3 separate regions of the Homo sapiens genome follow, and all the other regions are linked to region 3. Evidence: promoter capture Hi-C in 16 types of primary human blood cells and fetal thymus (Javierre and others, 2016). All regions are on one chromosome and are shown on one strand. The core of a region is centred on a gene start or on the middle of the fragment in contact, and the rest is flanking DNA. Distances in the headings are between cores, read along the strand shown. Region 1 overlaps LOC101928735 (a long non-coding RNA gene). Region 2 has its middle 160 kb from the start of FAR2. Region 3 holds the start of FAR2-AS1 (FAR2 antisense RNA 1).

Region 1 (4,310 bases), core at 956-3,455, 270 kb after region 3:
GGTTTGTGTAAGTACATTCTATGATGTTTGCAAAATGATGAAATTGTCTAATTACACATTTGTCTGAATGTATCCTCATTGTTAAGTGATACATGACTGTATTCTTTTTGATGTTATTTTAAATGAAATTGCTTTATTGATTTATTTTTCAGCAAGGTCATTATTCGTGTATAAAAATACCACTGATTTTTGTGTATTGATTCTGTATCTTAAAAATTTCCTAAATCCATTTATGAGTTCTAACTTTTTTTGTGTGTTGTGGAATGATTAGGGTTTTCTACATATAGACTTATGTCACCTGCAAATTAGAGACAATTTTACTTTTTTCTTTCTAGTTTGAATGCCTTTTATTTCCTTGATTGTCTGATTGCTCTTGCTGGTACTTACAGCAGTATGTTGAATAGAAGTGACAAGAGTGGACATCCTTGTCTTGTACTGGATTTTAGTGGACTTTCTGTTTTCCCTCATTAATTATAATGTTAGCTGTAAGATATCAATAAACTCTATCTGTCCCTTTTATCAGTGAAGCATATGTTTTCCAGAAGGTCCCCCAGCAGACCTCTGCTTCAGTCTCTGTGGCCAGAAGTATGTGACATAGTCATCTGTATTTGCAAGGGAGGCTAGATAAAAAGTGTAGGCACTCCGGCTTCTATGGAAGAAACAAACAGAGAGATGAGTTCATAATGGATGTTGCCTAAATAACCAGCATCGAATGCTCTAGTACCCCTCACCACATGCTTAGAACTACTTCTTTAGTGGAATTTTTCACGTTCTGCAGCATTAGAAGTTTTACTCCCAGGATCTGTATAGCTGTGGAAGAAAAATAAATTCTACCTGAAAGTTCAAGGGCTCAGATAACATTTAGATGGAGCTTTAATTCTACAGGTGGTAACTGATTTTAGAAACTTGCAGAAGATAGTTAATACTGTCCCCAATTTTTCTTTATGCACCGATTTATGCTTGAAATTCTAGTTTTACCCTTAAAAAGCTTTTTATTCTCTTAAAAATTTTGATTTTATTTTATTTTTTCTTTTTCAACTTTCATTTTAGGGTCAGTGGATACATGTGCAGGTACGTGTGTCTTATGGGTGTCTATTTTTCCCATGATAAGTCTTTTATTCTAATTAAAATACATAGAACATCTCTGAGGTAACAGTTGAAGATGTTAACCAGAATTTTACAATTTCCTATAAAGTAAGGAGCTGCAAGTAAATTTTTAAAGAAAGCATTACCACACTGAAGGGAGTACAATATGAGAATCAAAGACTAATTTCATCCCCTTCACAAGTTTGTCTGGAATGAATCCTTTTATGTAATTCATCATGCTGGTTTATACAGTATGTATTCCTGTGATAGTCAGAGGTTTAATTGGACTCTTTGCTTCCTTTATCCAGAGAGTAGACACCAGCTAATATTTGTCCCTAGTTTTTTCCTGTTACTCTCCTATAGAAACCAAAGTAGTCACCTTGCTGGTTTCAAAATGTACTGTGCACTTTCCTGCTTCTTGACTGCTCAGTGAACGTCCCACCAGCAATGCCTTCCCTGTCCACTGAAATCTTGCTCGTGGTCCAGTGCCATTTTCAAATACTCCCTTCTTTGTTCATTCCTCTCAGAGTATTTCATCAGAATTTCTCTTTGAGACACTGATCATATGCTGACTATTGTGGCAATTATTGTATTACATCCCATAATGTCCTTTATTTTTGAGAGTGATAATTAGCCATCTCTGTAGTGCCAGACAAGGCAACTATCACACTATAGGCACTTAATTTTTACTCTATTTGTAGAATAATTTTCTGTAATAAATGAATAAATAGAGTCATACTGTGGCTTCAGTGATCATTGGCCTGAACAGATTGAAAATCTCCTAAATCTCCACTGGGACTAGCACCAAATATCCTGTGCATGTTTTTTTTTTAATGAAGAGCTCACTTTTGACACTGTGTTTTAGTTGTTCCTGTTGTTATATTTTAGAGACATAATTGAAAATAATAAATGAAGGACAATAATCACTAGAATATATAAGAAACAAGATTTCTTAGCATTTTGCACAAAAATGTATGATGACCAGTAATTTATTTAGATAACTTTTCAGAGAACTAAGTTGCTCATCTTGGTTACTTGCAATGACTAGATTGTTTGTCTTATTGTAGCAACCATTCCATCTGGTGATAGTCAGTAGTTAAACTGAATTCTCCTTTATTTGTCGAAAGAGTACATGACTTAATAAAACTGCAGGATTATGAATAACATGTCATGTTTTGGGGGAGGGTAGGTCATTTGATCCAGGAAAGAAGATTCATAGTTAAAATTGCCTGCCTTTCACTGAAAATTAACTCAAAACAGACCTATAGTAAGCAGTAGAGCAACTGTGTTGAAAGATGAGAGATGATTATTGACTGGAGAAAAAAATTGTTTATTTTATGGGTAGCACAAAAACATGTTACTCCTGAGTCTTGCTGATGTCTAAAGATGTTGCCAGTACACTAAATAGAGACGAAACTGATCAAATCATTATAAACAAACGATCACTGGGAGAATATATATTTTAAAACATTAGTATAAATAAATAGTAATTTCCCATTTTCTTTCCCTTAGGAGTGTGTCTATTATGATACTTCAAAAATTTCAAGAACTTAAAGTATAATAAAAAAAATTTCAAGTGACAAACTTTTCTTCCTTTTTTTTTTTTTTTTTTTTTGAGACTGTGTCTCATTCTGTCACCCAGGCTGGAGTGCAGTAGTGGCCAGATCTTGGCTCACTGCAACCTCTGCCTTAAGTGATCCTCCCATCTCAGCCTCCTGAGTAGTTAGGACTACAGACACATGCTACCATGCCCAGCTAATTTTTTGCATTTTTGGTAGAGACAGGGTTTCACCATGTTGCGCAGGCTGTTCTCGAACTCCTGAGCTCAAGCCATCCATTCATCTAGGCCTCCCAGAGTGCTGGGATTACAGGCAGGAGTCACAGTGACCAACCCAGACTTTGCATTTTCAAAACATTGATTGTTTTTTATTGTGTCTCTGATGAAGTGATTTCTCACCCACAGAATCTGGGAATTCTATGATTTTCAGGAGCAGAAACAGTCCTAAGCTAGGAATAAAACGATTGCAAAAAATTCACTAAAGTTCAGAATTGTTTCTGAATTAAAGAGATGGCAGGTATAACTAAAGGAAAGGAGAATTTCGATCCAATAATTTCAAAGACATGGGGCTGCTGACTTACCCCTTTCTGTCATTGTAGGTGCTCATGAGACTATGTGGGGGTTTCCAAGAAGAAACCTGGAAAAGGCAAAGTAAGGAAACACATTTCAGATCTCTATAAGAATGCAAAATGACACTGAATGCTGCCTGCCCCACAGCCCTCCACACATGGTAACCTTCTAATTACAGAATTTCCATCCAATCTCCTTTGAAAGCTTACGAATAGTCTTTTCCTTTCTTCCTCTTTTTCAGGCTTTGTTTCCCCTTAGATCTGTGATGCTGTCCTTATTTCATGAAATCAGGATTCCTTACCTTCCGGAGACTCAGTTACTGATTTAGAGAATTATTTTTCTTTTGTGAAGATGTCAACAAATTGTTCAAGACCGCGTTCTTGAAACAGCCTGTCTTTGGTCTTTTGAAGGTCAAAGTCCATGGACATTAAATTTTATTACTCTAGAAAGAACCACAAGACATTAGTCACTGCTAGTTGCATTCTTATGCTATGAAAGACTTTTATTACTCCTGTTTCTATATATAGAACAGTTCCTCCGTTTTCCCACTGTTTTTAGAACAAACTTTTATGCCCCTATACTGTCACCCATTCTGCAGCAGAAACTCTGCTAAGCTCAGCAGACACTTCAGAAGTGCTTGGTTCTGAGACATCTGAGGCATTGTTTGAACTTTACCTCTGATTTGTGGTCATGGCAAGGGCAAGATGTTTAAGTTCTTCAATCTCGGATGCATATAAGTCTGGGAATCCATCAGCAAGGGCCTTGGGCTCAGTCTTCTGTAAGTGATCATTCTTGTGAACAATCTCTTTCCACTTCATCATGGTGCTCTTGGATGGCCCTCAACAGGAAGATCAAGACTGCAGTGAAAAGAAAATACACCACCTTACTCATATAAACTGAAAACTCACTGATAATGTTTGTGCATTTTTTACACTTGACTTTATAATATGATAATTTTTAATGTCCTTAGATAATTTTAAAATATGAGTTATGAGTTGAATAGTATGTAATGTGTTAACATATAAGTGTATAAGTATATACATATGTATATGAGTAACATGTGCATGTTAACATATGAGTGTATAACAGTTTATGT
Region 2 (4,580 bases), core at 921-3,420, 330 kb after region 3:
TTATGTGCAGCATAATCATTATAATTCCCTCACTGAGTGCATTTTATATCTCTCGTAATGTAAGATAGAAGAGGGTGTGCTCACAGCTTGAATGTGGAGCCTAACGCTTGATTCTGTTTATAGGCCTTCTGCTTGCAAAACATGAAATGGTTTGCCAAGTTTAGAACCCCCTGGAAATCTCTGGATTTGGAACTCCTGATAGAATTCCAAATTTTTTTTTAAGGTTTGGGTTCTTTTAACTTTCGGCACAAATGTGACTTCCTGTTTCTAAGAAAAAAAAAAAAAAAAAAGCTTGAAAAAGTTCCATGAAAAGAACTCTTAAAGAGCCCTGGACATCCAGTGGTTTCATAAAACAATGTTTTGGTGAATTAAGTGTAAATGTGTCAGAAACATATGGGTTAAATTTCCCTTGAAAAAGGAGACAGAAAAGCAGACCAAACATACTTTAGGGTTTTGCCGAACCCAGCGCCATTTGAAACATACTTTGAGGTGTTTGGGTAAGTCCAAACTGACAGTGCTGCCTCCCTCCCCACACTGTGAATTTGCCATCCACAAATTCACAAGTAGGCAGATACCCATTTTTCAAACGGTTGTGGTGTTTGTACAGACAAGGAAGCACAAAGATCAGGGTGCAGCGCCACAGCCTGGAAACAAAGCAGGAGTCATCCAGACCCTGGACAGAGCACAGGCCTCACCTCCCTGCTCAAGTATTTCAGCTCTGAGCAGTGCACCAGGGAATAGCTGGCTGTACTTTTCAGGGCCCGATTACAAAGTACAGTTCCTGATATATGATATTGCAATAGAATGGTTTCAGATTCAACCTGAACCAACTGAAGCCTCTACTCCAGATATTAATTGGATCAATGACTAAGAATGGAAACGTTCCCCCAACTGCATGTTCCTCTCCTTTCCTCTTCAATCGAGTTCCTGCTTTTATCTCTTCTGGTGGCTGAGACCAGAAGCAAGAAGTCTCAAAAATAACCTCCAGGAAACATGTTCTCACGAGATTTCCAGCTCCATTCATGAAAGGCAGAAGTTTGAATACAGTTCACAGAAGCACCAAGATTTTGAGGGATTTGGGGGGAACAATAACCTTTCTTGGGTATCATCCACTTGCTGAGGTTGACTTAGGGGGCCTGCAGATTATGCTGCAGAGAACAATTGCCTTGGAGAGAGAATAAGAGGCCCAAAGCAGTGCGGCCACCTAGCAATTCAATTCTTCCAGTAATCAAAGAATCCCCAGAGAGAATAAAGACACTTCTCTTTTTCCATCCTGTTAGTTTTCTTAGATGACAATGTAGGTCTTGTCCCTTCACTTCTCAAAGATTCATTTTTCCAGCTGTATAGTAAGCTCCGACCACCTTCTTACGCTTTGGCCACCTTCTTATGAATAAATAGGGAAATGAAAGACTGAGAATGCTTCTGATTTATGTCAAGAGGATTGATTTTGTTCAGGCCCTCCTAGCCACACACAAGCTTCCTTCAACTCTTTTTAAGTGTTTTTGGCGATTTCCAGTAGTGGGAATGAATGTTTATTGGTGGCCACATCCAAAAGATGGAAAAGCTGAAAACCGAAGGTTCTCAGAACTTCCGAGGTCAAAACAGATTAGAACTAGTTTTAAAGAAGTGTATTTTAGTTGAAAGAACATTTGGCTTAGCGTCAAAAGAGTTGGGCAGAAGGCTTGGCATTTTTTGCCCCATAATTAAGTCAGATATACTGTTAGTTCCTCAGTTTCTCCATATTCCAGAAAGGGTGAATGCATATATTACCAGAATAACTGCTGGGGGGATAATTAAAATTCTTCAAACTCCTTGAGGGCAAGAATGTCAAATTTAAAAAAAAGTAAAGTAGATTACACAAAGCCTAGAATTATGGTGAAAGCAAGGATAGTATTGAGTATGTTAGGAAAATTGTTCATTTTTACCACCTGGTAGACTACATCTAATAATAGTGATTATTTATATGGTGCTTGCTATATGTTAAGTATTTTAAGGTGTTTTGTGCATATTAACTCAATCTTCATGACAACACTAATAAGTAGTTTTTTAAAAATTATTCTGATGGGGAAACCAAGGCACAGATAAGTCATTTGCCCAATTTGCCAACATAGTTTTGGTGAAGGCAGGCTTTGAACCAAGGCAGTAAACTCTGGAAGCCGTATTTCTAACCTTCATATGGTTAAGAACTTTTATCTTCAGGCGAGATGATCCCAATCCTACTTCTGAGTTAGTTCTCTGATCTTGAAAATATCCTCATGAATTTTTCTTCCTCTCATGTATTTTACAAGCAAATCATTATGTTGAAATAAAGTAGAACATACTCAAATCATTTCTTTGTAATTTGCCATCTCAATAGGCACAACCAGCAGAGACTTCTTCAAACAAACAAGCCTTGTCTTCATGTGGAAAAACTACTGTGTAGGTTGATGTAAAAGCCTATTTTCTTTTAAAAACAAACGTTCAAAAGAGGAAAATGGTCTGTCACCTTTCATTAAAAGTAGATCTGTTAAGTATCTGGAAAAGCAAGGAAAGTGTATAGACACTTATTTAAGTTGGTGTAAAAATCAATTCTGAGGAAAATCTCAAGGTAAGCTCAGAGTCTCGGAGGGAAAAAGGAGAGACAGCATGTCTAGTTTCATCAGAGAATCTTGGTGCCCACTGGATGGGTGAATTGTAAAGAGGAGGCCTTCTTTTATGATAGGGGTTGTATCAAAAAGCTAATTGTCTCACTATCAAAGGCCCAGCAGAAACAGGAGGGAGCATTTAAGATATTTGAAGTGCTGTGAGTGTACAATGAATGGTTTGCACGTAGGTATTGCTTTAAAGTAGAAGAAAGTGGTCTGCCAAATTGTGCTTAAGCTTCAAAATGCTGCTGAAGTCCTATATCCCTGTAAGGCTATTTTGACTTTAAGGAAAGGCTTGTGGTAAGTTTTGTTTCTATGGATATAAAGCAATTAGATTAAACAGCAATTGAAAACTATTTAGTGAAAAAGATACCAAAAGGTATTTCTTTTTCATTTTACACTAAATTGTGCATTGTTGTTTCAATTAGCAACTAGAGAACATTGTGTATTTATGGTTATGCTTATTTTTAATAAAAAGTTTATTTTATTTTTAGAAAAACAGCACTGATTGGACCGGATACCATAATGTGAGACCCAGTTATACTGCCTGAGGAAAACCTTCCTGGGTGATTTTTACAGTTGTGTGTAAAATACCATAATTCTGCTGGAGGCACCCATTTGAGTTTCAGATAGAATTTCTAAGATGCCTTAAAAACAACAAAGTGCAGTGTGTTGATTATTGTCCTACTTTACAACTTTTTAAAGGAAGAGTTGGTCTGCTTGACATAGGCTGAAAACAGGGATCGGAAATGCACTTCAGCATTCACCTTTCTCTTCCCAATTATATGCCTTCCTTCTCTCCCATTAGATTTTGCTCCCTCTGCTCCTTTTAGGAATGGCTAGAGGACAGTGCTTCAACAACTCACCCAGGCCTCATGCTAAAATGCAGATTGTGAGCCTATAAGTCTAAGGTGGAGCTCAAGATTCTACATTTCTAACAAGTTTCCAATTGAGGTCCATGCTTCTGGTCCAGAGATGATCACACTATGAATAAATAGCAAGTAGAGTCTGATCAACCTCTGTGTGTGTGTGCGTGTGTGCGTGTGTGTGTGGTTAGTGATGTACTACTTGCCTAATTTTTCCTTTTTTCTTAAATATTCAAATGTAAAAGCTCAAATTAAATAACAAAACAAAAGAAAAAACTCATTTCTCACTTTTAATCCATAAACATCCACTTGATTAAGTCAGTCAATCCAAGCAGCTATAAAGAAGAGGATCTGAAGGGAATTAGAGTTCAATTCTCATTGCCATTGATCAATGGGTAATTGTGCTTTCACCTCTATTTAATAAATCGTGCTAAGAAAGTAACAGATCTAGCAGAGATACCAAGGGCATTTGCAGCACAGAACCGGGATGCTTTGCTGATATTTTTCTTCGGATCCCATCATTAATTGTGTTAGCTTTCACTTTCTCAGATCTTCCAAACATATCTCTCAGTAAATTAGGCATTGGGATAGATGACCATCTTTGTAATCAGAGGCTATCATGTCCTGACTCTATTCTCACATAAGAGTTATATTGCCTTAGTGCTACCCAATAACCCAATAAGCAATGAGTTCACTCTCATCCAATTATGTGAGGACTTTTTATGCCAAGCAAATTCAGGGATTCAGGTAAAGGATGAGTTATACTTTTCTGTGGGGGGGATGGTGAGGGGAAATAGTCTCACTCTGACACCCAGGCTAGAGTGCAGTGGTGCCATCTCGGCTCACTGCAACCTCTGCTTACCAGGTTCAAGCAATTCTCGTGTCTCAGCCTCCCCAGTAACTGGGATTACAAGAGTGTGCCACCACGCCCAGCTCATTTTTTTTTTTTTTTTTTGTATATTTAGTAGCGACAGGGTTTTGCCATGTTGTCCAGGCTGATCTGGAATCCCTGATCTCAGGCAATCTGCCTACCTTGGCCTCCCAAAGTGCTGGGATTACAGGCGTGAGCCACCGTGCCTGGCTGTGGTTC
Region 3 (4,649 bases), core at 59-2,558:
AGCCAGGCACAGTGGCGGGCGCCTGTAATCCCAGCTACTCGAGAGGCTGAGGCAGGAGAATCGCTTGAACCCAGGAGGCAGAGGTTGCAGTGCGCTGAGATCTCGCCACTGCACTCTAGCCTAGGTGACAAAGCAAGACTCCATCTCAAAAAAAAAAGAAAAAAGAAAAAGAAAAAAAAAAGACTTTTGTACCCTTCATACACTGTTGTGGTAGTGCCAATTGACAGTCTCTTCCTTAGGGAGGGTCACCTGGCACTAGTCACAAACTCCACATACTCTTCAATCCAGCAGTCTCCCTCCTCAGCATCCTCTCCTGACACAGGCACATTCTACAAAGAGGCATGCACACTGATATTCATTGCCCTATTTGCAGTAGAAAAAAAAGACAACACCGGGCAGAATGACTTAGATTTTCATGGAAAATTAGTGGAAAAAGTTGTAAAATATGTACAATTGATTTATATACACACATACCCCCCTACTGCAAAGCAAACTATGTACGTCCATATATGGATGTAAAAGCATAGGAGAGTATACACAAGCACACCTGGAGCAGGAAAGGGTCTAGAAGGATTTCAGCTTTTTCTGCCATAAAGATTATTGCTAAAATACATACCACACAACAAACCAACCCATTTCCCACAAATATTACTGTTTGACTTCTCACAAGATACATATAGATTTTTATTGTGTCTCTTCCTTCTGTGTTTCTCTTTTTTCCTAACTGAACTTTGTTCTTTATGCAGGCCCTCTTCCAATCCTGATATATTTTAAAACCTTTAGCATTTCTGCCTACAATATTTGGGTTTTCTTCTTTTCCTGTCTTTATTTAATAAGCCCCATACAAATATTTTCCCCATAATCACAATGTTTCCTTTTCACCTTGCTCAAGAACTGAGTTATGAGCTCCAAATGAGGTCTTTAAAAATTTAGATAAACTCTACATTGGCTAAGTTTTAGTCATTTGCACTGCTAATAAAGATGACAAACACGCTGAAGAAGACTTCCTCCCTTATAAAGGGGCTAGCACAGAAGGCAATACTGTTCATACTTCTGATTCTTGATCACGAGAATTGCCTTAGGCAATTATAACAATGACTCCTCTGACACATAATATTATTCAAGCGAGACAGATAAAGGCGTATGTCCTGTGTCACACAGCTAGGTGGTGACAGCTGCCTTAGCATCAGCACACTGTGTTCCCTCTAATTTCTTCACTCATCTCTAGGTGGCAGTAAATCTGGTTCCGAATACTGACTTTGAGACTCGGCTTTCTCCACATCCTTCCTGTCACTTCCTTTGAGACTAATTCAGATTCTTTCCTTAGCTTCTATTTCCCCATTTGTAAAATTGGGATGATGAGGACATCTTCCTTGGGTAGCTGTGACAATGAAAATGGGATCATCATGCATCAGCCTTAGCCCCACGAGTGCCACAGTAAACTCTCAGTAAGTGAGGTTGTCATCATTATTGTATATTTAAGATTATCTACCTATTCAGAAAACCCTAGTGACAGAGTCTCAATTGCTTTTCTTTTCGCATGAATGATTACTTGCTGAATTCATCAACCTCTTTAACATTTACCTTCCTTTATTGTGCTGGAACATTTTTAATGTCTTTTGTGGCTTCTCACTATGACTGCTTTGTTCAAAACTTATACAGGTCGAGTATCCTTTATGTGAAATACTTGGGCCAGAAGTGTTTTGGGTTTTGATTGTTTTCAGATTTTGGAATATTTGCATATATGTAATGAGCTATCTTGGGGATGGGACCCATGTCTAAACACAAAATTCATTTCTGTTTCATACACACTTAGCCATATACACAGAGCCTGAAGGTAATCTTACATAATATTTTAAATAATTTTATGTATGAAACAGTTTTGAATGTCTTTTGACTGTGACCCATCACATGAGGTAAGGTATGTGGAATTTTCCACTTGTGGCATCATGTCAGCACTCAAAACGTTTTGGATTTTGGAGAATTTCAGATTTTGGATTTTCAGATTAGGTGTGTTCAATCTGTATATATGGGTAAGATTCAGTTGTCTCCTTTAATCCTCGGCTGAAGGAAGCACTAAAGATTTTGGGGCCTTAATCTCCCATGCAGTGACACTCTCAAAGCCATTGACTCAGCTTCTCACCTGGGCTTCCTTCCAGTGAGCCGCAGATAGCAGTCATAGATAATGGCAGGGGCCCGGTGGCTGACCGCATTCCAGTACTGTGATGTGAAGCTGTTGCTGGTAAAATTAGCATTTGGCCTCCTGAAAGGTCTCTCAAATGGGATTTTTTCAAAGGTTGCCAAGACTTGGACTCCTGGGGAAAAAAGAAAGTAAGTGCTAGAGGAGAAAAGGAGAATATAAGTCCATCATAGTGGAAAGCATTTGTAATGGGTCAAAACAATAAAGACGAAGGATTTGCTGTGTAGAGTCAAGAATCAATTTCTGAGAACAATATAAAGATTTTTGTGCTGGGCAAATGGTTATCTGCAAACTGAAACAGTGTGAATGGGTTAATAATTGGATTCTTTAGTTGAAGCATTTACTGTAAAACAAACTATTGGGGAAACACTTGTCAATACAAGGAGGTACTGTTCAGAAAAACATGAATCTGCCTTTAATTCTAAGGTCATCCAGTCTATTCTGAAAGCCCCAAGACAGAGGCGAGAGACCTTATTTCCCTGGCTGGACCATTACTTTCAGAACCATTTAGAAAGTTTCTTAACATTTTATTTGAATCTTTATTAAAGGTTTAAGTAAAAGATTGTAAAGATTCTCAAGGCAAGATTTCTTTGTGTTAGTCTACTTCAAATACTTCTCTGGGAATATGTTAGACTCAATTGTCCACTCTGGTATCCAGAGTTTTATTCATAATAGTATTTTTCTTTTTATATTATTACTTAGATTAAGCTTAAGAACTTTTTATGTACATTTGTGAATTCAGTAGTTGTTTCCAAAAGATATTCATTTGAATTCAATTTTATTTAATGTATGTAGGTTTTTTTTCAAAGCATATGCCTAAGCTCATTATTCAATTATGATGATATCACTTATTATGGTAATATGATTATTGCCCTCCTTAAAAAAATACCAGCTAAAATCTGTCTGAAAATATAAATCCTATACAAAGAAGAGTCTCAAGAATCACCTGGTTCATAGGCATTTATTGAAACATTTGTGGCATTATTAAAACATTTGGTTCTGATAGCGTAAGAGATTCTGATCTCAACACTGACATTCTGATGTATATATCCATATACCTGTTCAACATTTCCATCTGGATGTGTAATAGACATTCACATTTAACAGCTCTAAAATTGGCCTCCTGATACTCCCACTACCAACCACCCCCTTCCCAATGCATACACAAACTTGCTTCTTCACTAATCTTCTACCTCTAACCAAATGGTAATTCAGTTTTTTTAGTAGTTCAGCCAAAAACTTTGGGGTCATCCTTGATTCTTCTCTTTAACAACCCACACACAATTCAACAAAATCTATCAGCCTTCTGTTTGAAAAATACCCAGAATCATAATTTCCACCTTCTGTGTCTCTGATCCAAACCACTACTGTAGCCTGGAGTGTTGCAGTACTGTCCTAAATGGTCTCTGCCACTACCCTTGTACTCCTACAGTCTGACCTCCATGTGGCAGCCGGAGTGATTCTTGTAAAATGTAACTCAGAATATATTACAGATACTTCTCCATTCAGAGCCCTTCAGTGGAATCTCATCTCATTTGGAGGCAAAGCCATGGTCTGGAAGGCTTTGCACACTCTGCATCCTCACTCTCTCTGCCCACCACTCTGACTTTATCTCCTACCATCCTCCCCCTCAGTGCTTCTGCTGCAGCCATACTGGCCTCCTTGCTGTCCTTGAATATGATTAAAGAGCTGTAGCACTTATTGTTTCTTCAACTTGGAATATCTCCTCCACATGTCCCTCTGATTTGCCCCCTCACTTCTTTCAGGTCTCTGCTAAGATGACACCTTATCAGGGAGACTTTCCTTGGCCATCACATATAAAATAGCAGCCTTCCCACATCACTATTTACTTCTTTAGTCTGTTTTATTTTTTTGCAGTCTCTCAACCATATCTGATGTATATTTCTCCTTTTTAAGATTTAAGTACCATAACAAAATTTTGTCTGTTTTGTTTCAACCTATATAGTACCTTGAAAGTGGCTGGCAGGTAATCAGTGCCCAATAAATATTTTTTGAGTAAATGAATGAATAAATAGCTCAGCAACATACAATTACTTTCCATTTCCTAAATCCATACCAATCCTTCTTTTAGTCATTACAAATACATTTATTTAGCATTTAACACTTGCTAGGCATTGTGGTAGGTGCTGAGGTAAAAAAATAATAATAATATATATGATATATTCCCTGTCTTTAAGGAATTGGCAATTTGGTGGGAGGTGTGGACAGTTTATGATTGCAATATTTTGCCTGAGTATTCTGCTAGAGATCAGTGCAGAGTATTCTGCTCTGGAGGAAGACAAAAGAAGCCTCTAGCTCTGTCTGGGTGCCAGGAAGGGGAGGGGTGAGGCTGGGTTAGGAAAGGCTTTCTGAGAAAGCTGTCCAAATGGTAATAGCAAGCGTTTACTGAAATGTTCACCGTTCTAATCACTGTGCTAAGCACTTTATC

The links. Contacts are between HindIII fragments. The CHiCAGO score rates a contact against its expected background, and 5 or more counts as called.
Region 1: a fragment that was not itself captured here is called in contact with the fragment with the promoter of FAR2-AS1 in region 3 in 1 of 17 cell types (monocytes); the score reaches 6.5 in monocytes.
Region 2: a fragment that was not itself captured here is called in contact with the fragment with the promoter of FAR2-AS1 in region 3 in 1 of 17 cell types (megakaryocytes); the score reaches 5.6 in megakaryocytes.

What each region holds. Positions count from the first base shown.
Region 1 is chr12:29,041,214-29,045,523 of GRCh38, reverse strand. LOC101928735 (a long non-coding RNA gene) reads right to left here. Exons shown (of 5, transcript XR_242930.3): 2 at 3,890-4,071; 3 at 3,516-3,656; 4 at 3,226-3,281. Among named protein-coding and RNA genes, the nearest start is that of FAR2, 110 kb to the left of the region's middle. RefSeq lists an enhancer at 2,933-4,132. The HindIII fragment of the contact is 2,430 bases long and covers 991-3,420 here.
Region 2 is chr12:28,989,969-28,994,548 of GRCh38, reverse strand. No RefSeq gene overlaps it. Among named protein-coding and RNA genes, the nearest start is that of FAR2, 160 kb to the left of the region's middle. The HindIII fragment of the contact is 1,383 bases long and covers 1,479-2,861 here.
Region 3 is chr12:29,314,507-29,319,155 of GRCh38, reverse strand. FAR2-AS1 (FAR2 antisense RNA 1) reads left to right here and starts at 1,308. Exons shown (of 7, transcript NR_103860.1): 1 at 1,308-1,448. FAR2 (fatty acyl-CoA reductase 2) reads right to left here. Exons shown (of 12, transcript NM_001271783.2): 9 at 2,144-2,315. The HindIII fragment of the contact is 3,353 bases long and covers 1-2,910 here.